Regions from separate parts of the Homo sapiens genome. Here regions 2 and 3 are each linked to region 1. The links are contacts of gene promoters, found by promoter capture Hi-C in blood cells and fetal thymus (Javierre and others, 2016). All regions are on one chromosome and are shown on one strand. Each heading gives the region's core, a stretch centred on a gene start or on the middle of the fragment in contact. The rest is flanking DNA. Distances are from core to core; before and after follow the strand shown.

The links. Contacts are between HindIII fragments. The CHiCAGO score rates a contact against its expected background, and 5 or more counts as called.
Region 2: a contact is called between a fragment that was not itself captured here and the fragment with the promoter of ZNF562 in region 1, in 6 of 17 cell types (fetal thymus, megakaryocytes, naive CD4 T cells and 3 more). The highest score is 6.5, in fetal thymus.
Region 3: a contact is called between a fragment that was not itself captured here and the fragment with the promoter of ZNF562 in region 1, in 4 of 17 cell types (M1 macrophages, M0 macrophages, naive CD4 T cells and 1 more). The highest score is 7.6, in M1 macrophages.

Annotation. Positions count from the first base shown.
Region 1 is chr19:9,672,548-9,676,676 of GRCh38, forward strand. It overlaps ZNF562 (zinc finger protein 562), which reads right to left and starts at 2,553. Exons shown (of 6, transcript NM_001130031.2): 1 at 2,468-2,553. RefSeq lists enhancers at 1,522-2,721, 2,260-2,759, 2,438-2,497, 2,760-3,759. The HindIII fragment of the contact is 670 bases long and covers 2,209-2,878 here.
Region 2 is chr19:9,150,237-9,154,162 of GRCh38, forward strand. The region is part of intron 1 of ZNF317 (zinc finger protein 317); the gene reads left to right. Among named protein-coding and RNA genes, the nearest start is that of ZNF317, 12 kb to the left of the region's middle. The HindIII fragment of the contact is 1,338 bases long and covers 854-2,191 here.
Region 3 is chr19:8,825,742-8,830,289 of GRCh38, forward strand. All of the region lies in intron 2 of ZNF558 (zinc finger protein 558), which reads right to left. Among named protein-coding and RNA genes, the nearest start is that of ZNF558, 4.3 kb to the right of the region's middle. The HindIII fragment of the contact is 986 bases long and covers 2,752-3,737 here.

The DNA of each region.
Region 1 (4,129 bases), core at 1,303-3,802:
ACTACACTTAGTCCAAACATGCTCTTAATAAATTATACAGATACTAGATATTTTATTACACTGATACTAGAATACTATTCTGATTATAATAGTAAATAATTCTAGTGTCAGTGTAATAAAGCCTCCATTCTTTCTTCCTGGTTCCTGGAGGCCTCTGTTTTGAAGCACTGTGGGGAAGTACAGACCTAAGAACTTCAGATGAAGAGAATAGTTGAGTATTATTGCCTTTCTTTTTTTTTTTTTTTTTTTTTTAGACAGTTTCGCTCTTGTCACCCAGGCTGGAGGGCAGTGGCGGGATCTCGGCTCAATGCAACCTCCGCCTCCCGGGTTAAAGTGATTCTCTTGCCTCAGCCTCCGGAGTAGCTGTGTAAGATACAATATATTTCTCTGAATTTCTCTTCAAAAGTTCAGCCTGTAAACTTCCTTGTTCTTTGTTCTCAAACTCAACTTTCCTGTTCTCCATGCCTCCTTGCCTCTAGTTACTGTAAACAACCTTCCCATCAGCTCTAATCAATAACTCACATCTGTTCCCTTGGCTACTCATTCTGCAGCTATTCCACTCTTTGAAACTGCACATCCCACCATCATGACTCACACATCCCCCTACCCTTCCTTATTTGGGGAAAATATTCACAGATAGCCAATAGGGTCAGTTTAGATTCTGCGGTCTGACCCTAACCCACGGGGGAGAGACACAGAAGTAGGGACCCAGCGTTAGAAATAAAAACCCCTTCCCCTCCCTTATCTGGTGTACTCTCGCCATCACTCCATCCACGAGACTCACCCTTCTATAGAAATAAATTGCGTTGCTGAGAAAACTTTTGCCTGAGTGCTGGTTTCACTTTGCAGCACCCAGCGTTTTATTTTTTTATCTCCAACAGCTGGGATTACAGGGGCCCACCACCAAGCCCGGCTAATTTTTGTATTTTTAGTAGAGACAGGGTTTTACCATGTTGGCTAGGCTAGTCTGGATCTCCTGACCTCAGGTGATCCGCCTGCCTCTGCCTCCCAAAGTGCTGTGATTACAGGTGTGAGCCAGTGCATCTGGCCTGGCTTTAAGTAGAAAGGCTTGCAGCTGGTAACAATTAGAAAAAAAATAACCTGCAAGAAAATAAAAATTAAAAACTAAAGGCTTAGTCTACACGCGTTCATATTTACATACAAAAACGGGCACACCCTAAACAACTATGTTTTTTCCATCTGAATGTAATGTGTCAAAAATAAGTGGCGGGTGGATCACTTGAGGTCAGGAGTTCGAGACCAGCCTGGCCAACATGGTGAAACCCCATCTCTACCAAAAATATAAAAAATTAGCCAGGTGTGGTGGTGCACGCCTGGAATCCCAGCTACTCGGGAGGCTGAGGCAGGTGAATCATGTTATAAAGTTTTCATGCCACAAAAAAAAAGCACTCAAATATAACATTTTCTTTTCTCAGCAAGGCAATTTACTTCTACAGAAGGGTGTGCCCTCACAGATGGAGCAATGGTGAGCACACACCAGGACAAGGGAGGGGAAGGGGTTCTTATTCTTGAGGAAAGTGGCCCCTGCCGCTTTGTCCTTCCCCGATGGCTAGGGTTAGACCCCACAGGCTAAACTAATTCCAATTGGCTAATTTAAAGAGAGTGACAGGGTGAGTGGTTTGTTGGGGAAAATGGTTATAACAGAGCAGGAAATTGGAATGAGTCAGGGTGGAAAATGAGTCAGGGTGGAGTAAGTAATCGAAATAAGTCTGGGTGGAGCAGGTAATCAGAATGAGTCAGGGTGGAGCAGGTGATCGAAAAAGGTTGCTTTACGGAGAAGTTTAAAAGTAGAAGGCAAAGAATTAAACATACTGACATATTGATTTTTTAAAAAGAAATTTAAAACTCATATCTAACAATCACTTGAACCCGGGAGGTGAAAGTTGCAGTGAGCCAACATCGTGCCACTGCACTCCAGCGTGGGCGACAGAGTAAGACTCCAAATCAAAAAAAAAAAAAAAGTAAAGGACATCAAGACAACGCCAGATTCTCAGATGAGACATTTTTTAGCAAATAAATGGAAGTCACAGCCCTCTTGAAACCATTTTTCCGCCGTTGCTCACCAGGAACATGCCGGAAGAGATAGGTTCCAGACGCGGGAGAATGCGGGGCCAGAGCCAACCTCACCAGAAGGGCAGAAATCCTTTTCCTTTCGGAAAGAAAAAAACTCCCAAAGGTTGCTTTCCAAGCTTTTCAAGAGAGGAGCACAGCGGATGAAAGTACTCAAGAAAACACCCGGCGGAGGCGGAACAAACACACTTCCCGACGCAGCCAGACGGACTGTGCGGCCTCTCGGAACTGGCCAGAGGCCGCACCAGGAGGACTGACAGCCCCTAGAAAAGCGAGTGAAACTAGGCGGATCTGAGAGGCTCCTGGGCGACCACGCCCAATCCTTCCTTTGCCGCCCCGCTGGTATGTCCCGGACCCCCAAGCAGGTAGAACTCACCACAGCGGGGTGGACTCCACCACAATAAAGGTTAAACGGCACTGACCATGCTGAGCCACAGCCGGTAAAGATGGCGGTGGCACACTGACGTCACTTCCGCTCCGAGCCTCCGGCCGGGTGGGGCTCCAGGGCTTGAGTTTCAGGCACGTAGGACAAAGAAATTCTAGTTTCCTCCTGGGTGGGTGCCGGACAGTGCCTGGGGTTGGCTCAGGGAGCGGGATGCAGAAACGGGTTCAGAGAAAAAGATGAGTTTAGAACCGGACCTCTGGACGGAACCGTGGGCGAGGGGTGGGGCCCATATTTGGGGGCGGTTTAGAGGTGGGACCCGGCCTAGCCCGCGTTTCAGGTGCCCAGACGGGTTGGAAAGGCGGGGATGGGGGATGGGACGCACCCCAGAGGATGCTCCTCCAAAGCTTATCCTGGGCGGGCTCAGTGGCTCACGCCTGTAATTCCAGCACTTTGGGAGGCTAAGGCAGGTGGATAGCTTGAGTCCAAGAGTTCCAGACCAGCCTGAGTGAAATAGCAAGACCGTGTGTCTTTTTTTTTCTTTTCTTTTTTTTTTTTTTTTTTTTTTTGAGACAGAGTTTCACTCTTGTTGCCCAGGCCTGTGCCCGGCTCGACCCTGTCTCTATTAAAATATATATATAAGGCCAAGCGCCAGTGGTTCACGCCTGTAATCCCTGCACTTTGGGAAGCCAAGGCGGGCGGATCACCTGAGGTCGGGAGTTTGACACCAGCCTGGCCAACATGCTGAAACCCCGTCTCTACTAAAAATACAAAAAAATAGCTGGGTGTGGTGGCAGGCGCTTGTAATCCCAGCTACTCAGGAGGCTGAGGCAGGAGAATCGCTTGAACCCGGGAGGCGGAGGTTGCGGTGAGCCGAGGTTGCGCCACTGCACTCCAATCTGGGGGACAAGAGCGTGACTTCATCTCAAAAAGAAAAAATATATATATATGTGTGTGTGTGTGTGTGTGTGTGTGTGTGTGTGTGTGTGTCAAGCTTTTTTGTATGCCGCTCCTCATGTTCCTGGAGCCTTTCCATGATTCTTCCATATTAAACCTGCCAGTGATAGATGGCATGGTCTGTCTCTTCCATTCAGTCATTCTTTCTGTAGGCCTTTATTTTTTCTTTTTCTTTTTCTTTTTTTTTTTTTTTTGAGACGGAGTCTCTCTCTGTCCCCCAGGCTGGAGTGCAGTGGTGCAATCTCGGCTCACTGCAAGCTCCGCCTCCTGGGTTCACACCATTCTCCTGCCTAGCCTCCTAAGTAGCTGGGACTACAGGCGCCCGCGACCACAACCAGCTAATTTTTTTGTATTCTTAGTAGAGACGGGGTTTCACGGTGTTAGCCAAGATGATCCCCATCTCCTGACCTCATGATCCACCCGCCTCGGCCTCCCAAAGTGCTGGGATTACAGGCGTGAGCCACCGCGCCCAGCCTATTTTTTCATTCTTTATTTTATAGAACCTGCTGTTTCCATTGCGTTTTCTTTTTACTTTTTTTTTTTTTTTTTTTTTTTTTTGAGACTGGAGTCTCACTCTGTTGCCCGGGCTGGAGTGCAGTGGTGCAATCTCAGCTCACTGCAACCTCCGTCTCCTGGGTGCAAGTGATTCTCCTGCTTCAGCCTCCTGAGTAGCTGGGATTACAGGTGGCTGCCACTATG
Region 2 (3,926 bases), core at 273-2,772, 520 kb before region 1:
AAATGAACAATTCTGTTAAGTAATTGTGAAATCGTCAGTGGTCATTTTATTTTAATGATAATGGCATTTTAGAGTGAATGTTTGTTTACTGAGCCTATAGAGTTCCATACATAACCCAGTGTTAAAGTCTTCAGTTTCCAGATGAGAAAACTGAGTTTTGATGAACTGACTCTTGGGAGGGGAATGAGCAGAACTGTGGGCTTGCATTAAAGGGGAGTCTACTGAGGCCTCAGGGACAGGGAGACCTTCACAGAAGTGCAATCAGAACCTGGGTGTCAGCACCTCCAAATGGTGGGGGTGTTTCACAATGTGGACCTGTGGGAGATGGGGGAGAGGGGCCCAGGGGAACCCTGACCTTTAGGGGCTGGGCAGAGGAGGGATCTCAAGCCAGAGTCTTCAAAAGAGCAACCAGAGATGTGAGCACAGACTGGGATGAGTGGGCTATGGCTGCAAGAGCAGTGGCATTCCCAGGAAGAGGGAGATAGATTCATAGTGAGCAAGATGATGTGTCAGGAGGTCAGGCAAAGGAAGGGTCAAGATGTAGTGTCAAGGAGTTCCCACATAGGGGACAGTACAGGTGACATAGGTCACTTTGAGAGGCAACAAGATGTGGCTCCGCAGTCACGTCAGCTGGGCTCACAACTTCCACCTATGACCTTGACCAAGTGTCTCGGACCCTTGGTGCCTTATTCTCTGGGTACTTGAGAATAATTCCGGGAGGTTGTGAGGATTAAATAGGAGTGGCCCTGGAAAGACTCAGGAGAATGTCTCATACCTTGTAAACACTACACATGTCGTTATTTGTAGAATTGGCATTAATGTTGGTGGGGAAAGGTGGAATGGGACCTGCAGAAGCTTGTTAGTTGAGCATGAATGAATGAATGGTAGGTGAGGATGGAGATACTGTGCCTCAGGAACTGAGCCTCTGTCACCCTCTCTCCCCTTCCTCAGCAGTGACTTAATGTCAGAACCCAAAGGCACAATGACTAGAAAAGGGCTTTGTAAAAAGAATGAAAGCGTCATGCATCTTTGAGTTGGCCCAAGATCAAATTTGGTGTTGAATAATGAATCCCCAAGGCAGAGTTTATACGTTAAAACACACTTCCTATATTATTGTTTTGAAATGTTTCTGAATATCTAAAACAATTCCAATAGCAGAAATACTAATTGATGTTGAAAAAGATTGTTATAACCCTGGTAATGTTTAAAAGTGGTAATATTGATTATTGATCTGAGTCAGATGTTAAAGTAGCAGCGTCACGGTTCTTACATCAGTGCTGTCATGAGAGTCGCGGTGGAAGCCAGAGAGAGGAGGCATGTTCATACAAAGCAAATTAAATCCCCTCCCGAGGTGTGGGCCACCATACCTCACCAATGTATTGTGGTTTTGATGTTATTTCCTTAATGACTGATGTTGTTAATCATCTTTTCATGTGTTTACAGTTCATTTCTGTAAATTTGGAGAAATGTCTGTTCTGTTCAAGTCTCCTGCCCACTTTTTTACTGGGTTGTCTTTGTTGTTGAGTTTATAATGATATTAAATCCCTATCACATACATGATTTGCAAATATTTTCCACCATTCTGTGTCTCATTCACTTTCTTGATAATGTCCTTGATGTTAATTCTAAATGTTTGGTAGGGTTCACCAGTGAAGCCCCTTGGTCCTGGACTTTTTTTTTTTTTTTTTGAGACGGAGTCTTGCTCTGTCGCCCAGGCTGGAGTGCAGTGGCGCAATCTCGGCTCACTGCAAGCTCCGCCTCCCAGGTTCACACCATTCTCCTGCCTCAGCCTCCCGAGTAGCTGGGACTACAGGCACTCATCACCACGCCTGGCTAATTTTTTGTATTTTTAGTAGAGATGGGGTTTTACCGTGTTAGCCAGGATGGTCTCGATCTCCTGACCTCCTGATCCACCCGCCTCGGCCTCCCAAAATGCTGGGATTACAGGCGTGAGCCACCGTGCCCAGCTGGTCCTGGACTTTTTATTTAATGGCTTTTGATGACTGCCTCAGTCTCTTGTTATAGGTCTCTCAATTTTCTTTTTCTTCTAGAGCCTGTTTGGGTATGTTTCAAGGAATTTGATACATCTAGAGCATTGATCCCCAAGCCCTGGGCCACAGACAGGTACCGGTCCCTGGCCTTTTAGGAACAAGGCCCTGCCGCAGGAGGTGAGCGGAGGGCAAGTGAGTGAAGCTTCATCTGTATTTACAGCGGCTCCCCATCACTCACATTACCCCTGAACTCCACCTCCTGTCAGATCATCAGCAGCATTAGATTCTCATAGGGGCGCAGACCCTATTGTGCACTGCACATGCAAGGGATCTAGATTGCACACTCCTTATGAAAATCTAATGCCTGATGATCTGTCAGTGTCTCCCATCACCTCCAGATGGGACCATCTAGTTTCAGGAAAACACTCTCAGGGCTTCCACTAATTCTATATTATGGTGAGTTGTATAATTATTTTACCATATATTACAATGTAATAATAATAGAAATAAAGTGCACAATAAATGTAATGCACTCAAGTCATCCCAAAACCATCCCCCCTCACCTCACCATCCATGGAAAAATTGTCTTCCATGACACCAGTCTCTGATGCCAAATTGGGTGGGGACTGCTAGTGTAGATGATCTAATGTGTTGGTGCATAATTGTTCATGGCATTCTCTTACAGCCCTTTGAATTTCCGTAAGGTCGGTAGTAATGTCCCACTTCCACTGATGATTTTAGTTACTTGCATCTTTTTTTGTTAGTAATTCTAGCTGTAGTTTTGTCACCTTTGTTGATCTTTTTGAAAGAACCAACTTTTGTTTTCATTAATTCTCCTATTCTCTATTTCATTTGTCTCTGCTTTAATCTTTATTTCTTCACTTTTGCTTTCCCTAGGTTTAGTGTGTCAAGGTAGTTGTTTTTGTTTGTTTGTTTGTTTGTTTGTTTGTTTGAGACTGAGTCTCGCTCTCTCACCCAGGCTAGAGTGTGATGGCACGATCTCAGCTTACCTCAACCTCCGCCTCCCGGGTTCAAGCGATTCTCCTGCCTCAGCCTCCCGAGTAGCTGGGATTACAGGCATGCACCACCATGCCCAGCTAATTCTTTGTATTTTTAGTAGAGACGGGGTTTCTCCATGTTGGTCAGGCTGGTCTCGAACTCTCGACCTCAGGTGATCCACCCACCTTGGTCTCCCAAAGTGCTGGGATTACAGGTGGGAGCCACTGCACCTGGCTGGAACTGGTTTTTGTATGAGATGTCTTACTGGTGGCTTTTCCTAGGCAAAGGGAATAAGATCTCGAGTTCCTACTGGAACCTAAGTGTTAGAGATGGGGATTCAGGTTAAATGAGTGGATGTGATTACCTGGGCAAAGCATGAGGCATGCGAAGGAATGGGTAAAGAATGGCTCTTGAGCAGAATCAGCCTTTAGTGGTGAAAGAGGACCTCTGGATGGTCCAGATGATCCAGAGAAGCAGGGAAAGAACCAGGAGACAGTTGTAGAGGAGCCGAGAATAGAGAATGATTCTCAAAGAAAATAGACACCACATTTTCGTGAGACTCTAAGACTGAAGTGCATTTACTGGATTCACTGACACGGGAGTAAATTGTATTTTCTGTGAGGATGGGGATGATGGTAGTGGATGCTGGGTGTACTGAATTGGGAGATGGTGAATGTAGACTGCTCCTAAGTTTTTGCTCGGAAGGGGGCACTAAGGGGAGCCAGGGCAGGCATTGGTTTCAAGATGGGATAGACCTGAGCATGTGTCCATGCATAGGAAATTGTCTAGCAGGGCGAGAAATGAGGCTGAAAGTAAAGGAGAGCCAGGTAGTGCGAGGGTCCAGAGACGGGGATGGGCCTGGAGCAGATTTGAAAGGATTGCCTTGAGAAGGGAGGGCAGACATCTCTTTGTCATAGAAGGAAAGGAGGAGGTCAT
Region 3 (4,548 bases), core at 1,995-4,494, 850 kb before region 1:
AAAATCAAGTTGGAGGGAGTCTTTGGCTCTTGGGCCTCTGTGGTAGACAGATGATTAACTTCCTGCTCTCCCAAGAAAGGGGTCTGTGTTCTAATCCCCAGAACCTCTGGATCTACTCCCTTACATGGCAAAAGGGATTCTGCAGCTGTGAGGAAGGCAAGGATCCTGACATGGGGGATGATGCTGGGTGGGCCCACTGTGATTACAGGGGTCCTTATAAAAGGGAAACAGGAGGGTCAGTTCAAAGAAGGATGGGATGAGATGAGAGAAGAAGGGAGCGTGTGTGTAGCAGGGAGGAGATAACATACAGAGAGACTGGAAGATGCTGCCCTGCTGGTGTTGATGATGGAGGAACAAGCCACAGTCAGGGAAGGCTGGTGGCCTCTACAAGATGAAAAACGCAGGAAATGGGTTCTCCCCTAGAGCCTCTAGAGCAGTGGTCCCCAACCTTTCTGGTACCAGGGACTGGTTTCGTGGAAGACAATTTTTCCATGGAGCACGGGGCGGCAGTGGGGCTGGGCAGGGAATGGTTTCAGGATGATGTTTTATAAGCACATTACATTTATTCTGCACTTTATTTCTATTATATTACACAGTAATATATAATGAAATAATTATACGACTCACCATAATATAGAGTCAGTGGGAGCCCTGAGCTTGTTTTCCTGCAACTAGATGGTCCCATCTGGGGGTGATGGGAGACAGCAACAGATCATCAGGAATTAGATTCTCCTAAGGAGTGTGCAATCCAGATCCCTCACATGCAAAGTTCACAATAGGGTTTGGGCTCCTATGAGAATCGAATGCTGCCACTGATCGGCCAGGAGGTGGAGCTCAGGTGGTAATGCGAGCAATGAGGAGTGGCTGTAAATACAGATGAAGCTTCGCTCACCTGCCACTCACATCTTGCTGTGCAGCCCTGTTTATAAGCACTGGTCCGTGGCCCAGGGGCTGGGGACTCCTGCTCTAGAGGGAATGCAGGCCTTCCAGCTTATTGAGGATTTCTGACCTCCAGCAAGGCAAGAGGATAAATGTGTGTTGTTTTAAGTCCCTGAATTTGTGGTAGTTTGTTATAGCATCAATAGGAAACTAACATGCCTTTCACATCACACCTTCCCTTTGGGTGAGTTCAGCAGACCCAGGCAACTGCTGCAGAACTTCCCTACCCTCTACAGGGGGAAGTATCTCCTTTTTCCCCGTAACAGACCTAATGTGCAGGTAGGCACACAGTAGTTCCAGTCACTGAGCTGGGGAGTGAGGGGGGGTTGGCCTCCAGCCAGCTCACTGGGCCTCCAAGAAAAAAACAAGTAGAGAAGGTACCTGGGACATTTTCAGGCCCCAAGTCCCTATTCAAGGCTGTCTGGAAGCAGAAATTTCCCACTAGGACAGGAGGGGTCTCTTCAGTTTACAGATCCTGTGACACCTGCCCTGCCCTGGATACAGTGCTGGAGGATGGTCACAGCAGATGGGCCACTCTATGTCAGCTGCCCAACACAACTTCTGGTGATGATGGAAATGTTCTATAATTCTGCTCTAATACTTGAAATGTGACTAGTATGGCTGAGAAAATAAATTTTATTTTTTTTGGGAGCAATCATCTGATTCCTAAACTACCTCCAAACACCCCCTCTTTTGCCTCTTAAATGTCTTCCTTCTGAATCCTGAAGTCCTTGTTATCTGCATGCTTACACTACATGCAAATTGCATCACCCTCTGGCCCACAACTCTTTAGTGTCTTCCCACTGGCCTGAGAACAGAGTCTGAAGTGAGGCCTAGTATGGTTCTGCCTCCCTCTTGATCTTGGTCTTGGTCACACTTCTTTCCCTATTCTTTTTTTTTTTTTTTTTTTTTTTTGAGGAGTCTCACTCTTACACCCAGGCTGAATGCAGTGGTGCAATCTCTGCTCACTGCAACCTCAGCCTCCCAGGTTCAAGCAATTCTCTTGTCTCAGCCTCCCGAGCAGCTGGGACTACAGGTGTGCACCACCACACCCAGCTAATTTTCGTATTTTTAGTAGAGACGGGGTTTCACCATGTTGGCCAGGCTGGTCTTGAACTTCTGACATCAGGTGATCAGCCCACCTTGGTCTCCTAAAGTGCTGGGATTACAGGTGTGAGCCACTGCGCCCAGCTTCTTTCCCTGTTCTTGTCTCGGCTTCAGCCATCCCTGTGTTCCCAGTGCAGGGAGCGTGGCAGCCTCTCTCCTGCTGCAGGGCCTTTCCTTACACAGCTTCTTCGACGGCAGTGCTCTCTTGGACATAACCCTGTCCCCTCACTCTAGTCGAGCCCTATGACTAGCTACATCTGACCCCAACTTGGAGATGGAGCAGCAATTCCCTTTTTCAGGGGCCTGTGAACCCCAAGTGGGAAAATAAAGGAAAATCCTGAAGTTCCTTTAAGGGAAATTCCGAGCATCCAGCTAGCCCCAAAAGTAAATATGGAACTTGTTAAACAGGAAGGTAATAGTAACCTAAAACAACAGCCAAAGAAGTTAAGGCTCCAGAGATGTTCGCTTTCCCCATGGAAACTAAAGATAACATCTTAACATGCGTCCCTGAGTTGCCTTTCAGAGGCTGGGACTCCCACTGAGGACCCCACCAAATGGAGCTGCTGGCTCAGAGACCCCAGATAAGCGGGACATGAAGGCTGAGCTTCAGCGTTCTTTGTGCTAAGTTTCTTCTTGAGGGGCTTGGAGAAAGTCACTTCTCCCAGCCAGTTAACATTTTCCTACTGACTCTAAATTTTTAAACAAAGCTTCTTTTCTTTAACCAATTACAAATCAGAAAAATCTTTGAATCTACCTATGACAAGCTCCTGCTTCAAGACATCCTTGCCCTTTTAAGTCTAAACCAGTGTGTAACCTCCATGTATTGCTTTATGATTTTGCCTGTAGCTTCTGCTTTTCTGTAACTTACCATTGCCTTCAGAAATCCTTGCCTAGCCGGGCACGGTGGCTCATGTCTGTAATCCCAGCACTTTGGGAGGCCTAGGCAGGCGGATCACCTGAGGTCAGGAGTTTGAGGCCAACCTGGCTAACATGGTGAAACTCTGTCTCTACTCAAAATACAAAAAATTTGCCAGGTGTGGTGGTATGTGCCTGTAATCCTAGGGACTGGGGAGGCTGAGGCAGGAAAATCACTTGAACCTGGGAGGCAGACGTTGCAGTGAGCTGAGATCGTGCCATTGCACTCCAGCCTGGGTGACCAAGTGAGATTCTGTCTCATTAAAAAAAAAAAAAAGGCCGGGTGTGGTGGCTCATGCCTGTATCATCTCAGCACTTTGGGAGGCTGAGGCGGGTGGATCACGAAGTCAGGAGATTAAGACCAGCCGGGCCAACATGGTGAAACCCCGTCTCTACTGAAAATACAAAAATTAACCGGGCATGGTGGTAGGCGCCTGTAATCCCAGCTACTCAGGAGGCTGCGGCAGAACTGCTTGAACCCGGGAGGCCGGGGGTTGCAGTGAGCTGAGATTGCAACACAGTACTCCAGCCTGGGTAACAGAGTGAGACTCCATCTCAAAAAAAAAAAAATTCCTTGCCTAAAAGCCACTGGGGAGGCCAGGATTTGAACATTTAATGTCTGGTCCTCCTTGCTTAGTGCTGTGCAATAAAAGCCTTTCTATCTATCGTAGCAACCCTCAATATAGACATCTGGTTTCACTGCACCACCAGGTGAGCAGACCCCAGTTTGGTTCTGTAACAACTTAAGCTCTCAAGCTAAATATCCTTCCCAAGAAAGCTTCCCTGTTCCCTCTGATCAAGTTCACTAGTGCCAAGCTCCCACATCACTCCTGTCATTCATGGTTTAAAATTTATCTTCCCTGTTAGAAGGTAAACTTTATGTAGGACAGGGGCCATTTCAGGTCCTCCAGGGTCCCTGTGCATCTGACCTAGGACCTGACTCATGGAGGCGACCTGGTTTGCCAAGGATTGTCCCGGTTTGAACACTGGATGCCCTGTGCCCTAGCAAACCCCTTGGTCCTGAAAAAATGAGGATGGTTGGTCACCATTAACTGTGCACTCAAATAATATCTATTGCATGATAAGTAAACATTCCTTCAAGAATGCTGTAGGAAAGCTAGAATGGAAAAGGTGAACACACACACAATTAGTAGAAACCCCACAATTTAATACTAGATTACTTAACATGATTCTCTGCAATATGAATCACCATACTGTTATTTCAGAGAAGTTTTAAGAAACAAAGTTAATTCCTATTAGGAGGTGATATCGTTGGCTCTGTGTCCCCCCACCCAAATCTCATCTCGAGTTGTAATAATCCCTATGTGTCAGAGGAGGGTCCTGGTAGGAGGTGACTGAATCATGGGGGCGGACTTCCCCCTTGCTGTTCTCCTGATAGTAAGTTCCCACAAGATCTGATGGTTTAGAAGTTTGGCGTTTATGTCTTCTCTCTCTCTCCTGCTGCCATGTAAGACGTGCCTTGCTTTCCCTTTGCTTTCTGCCATGATCGTAAGTTTCCTGAGGCCTCCCCCGCCATGCAGAACTGAGTCAATTAAACTTCTTTCCTTTGTAAGTCACTCAGTCTCA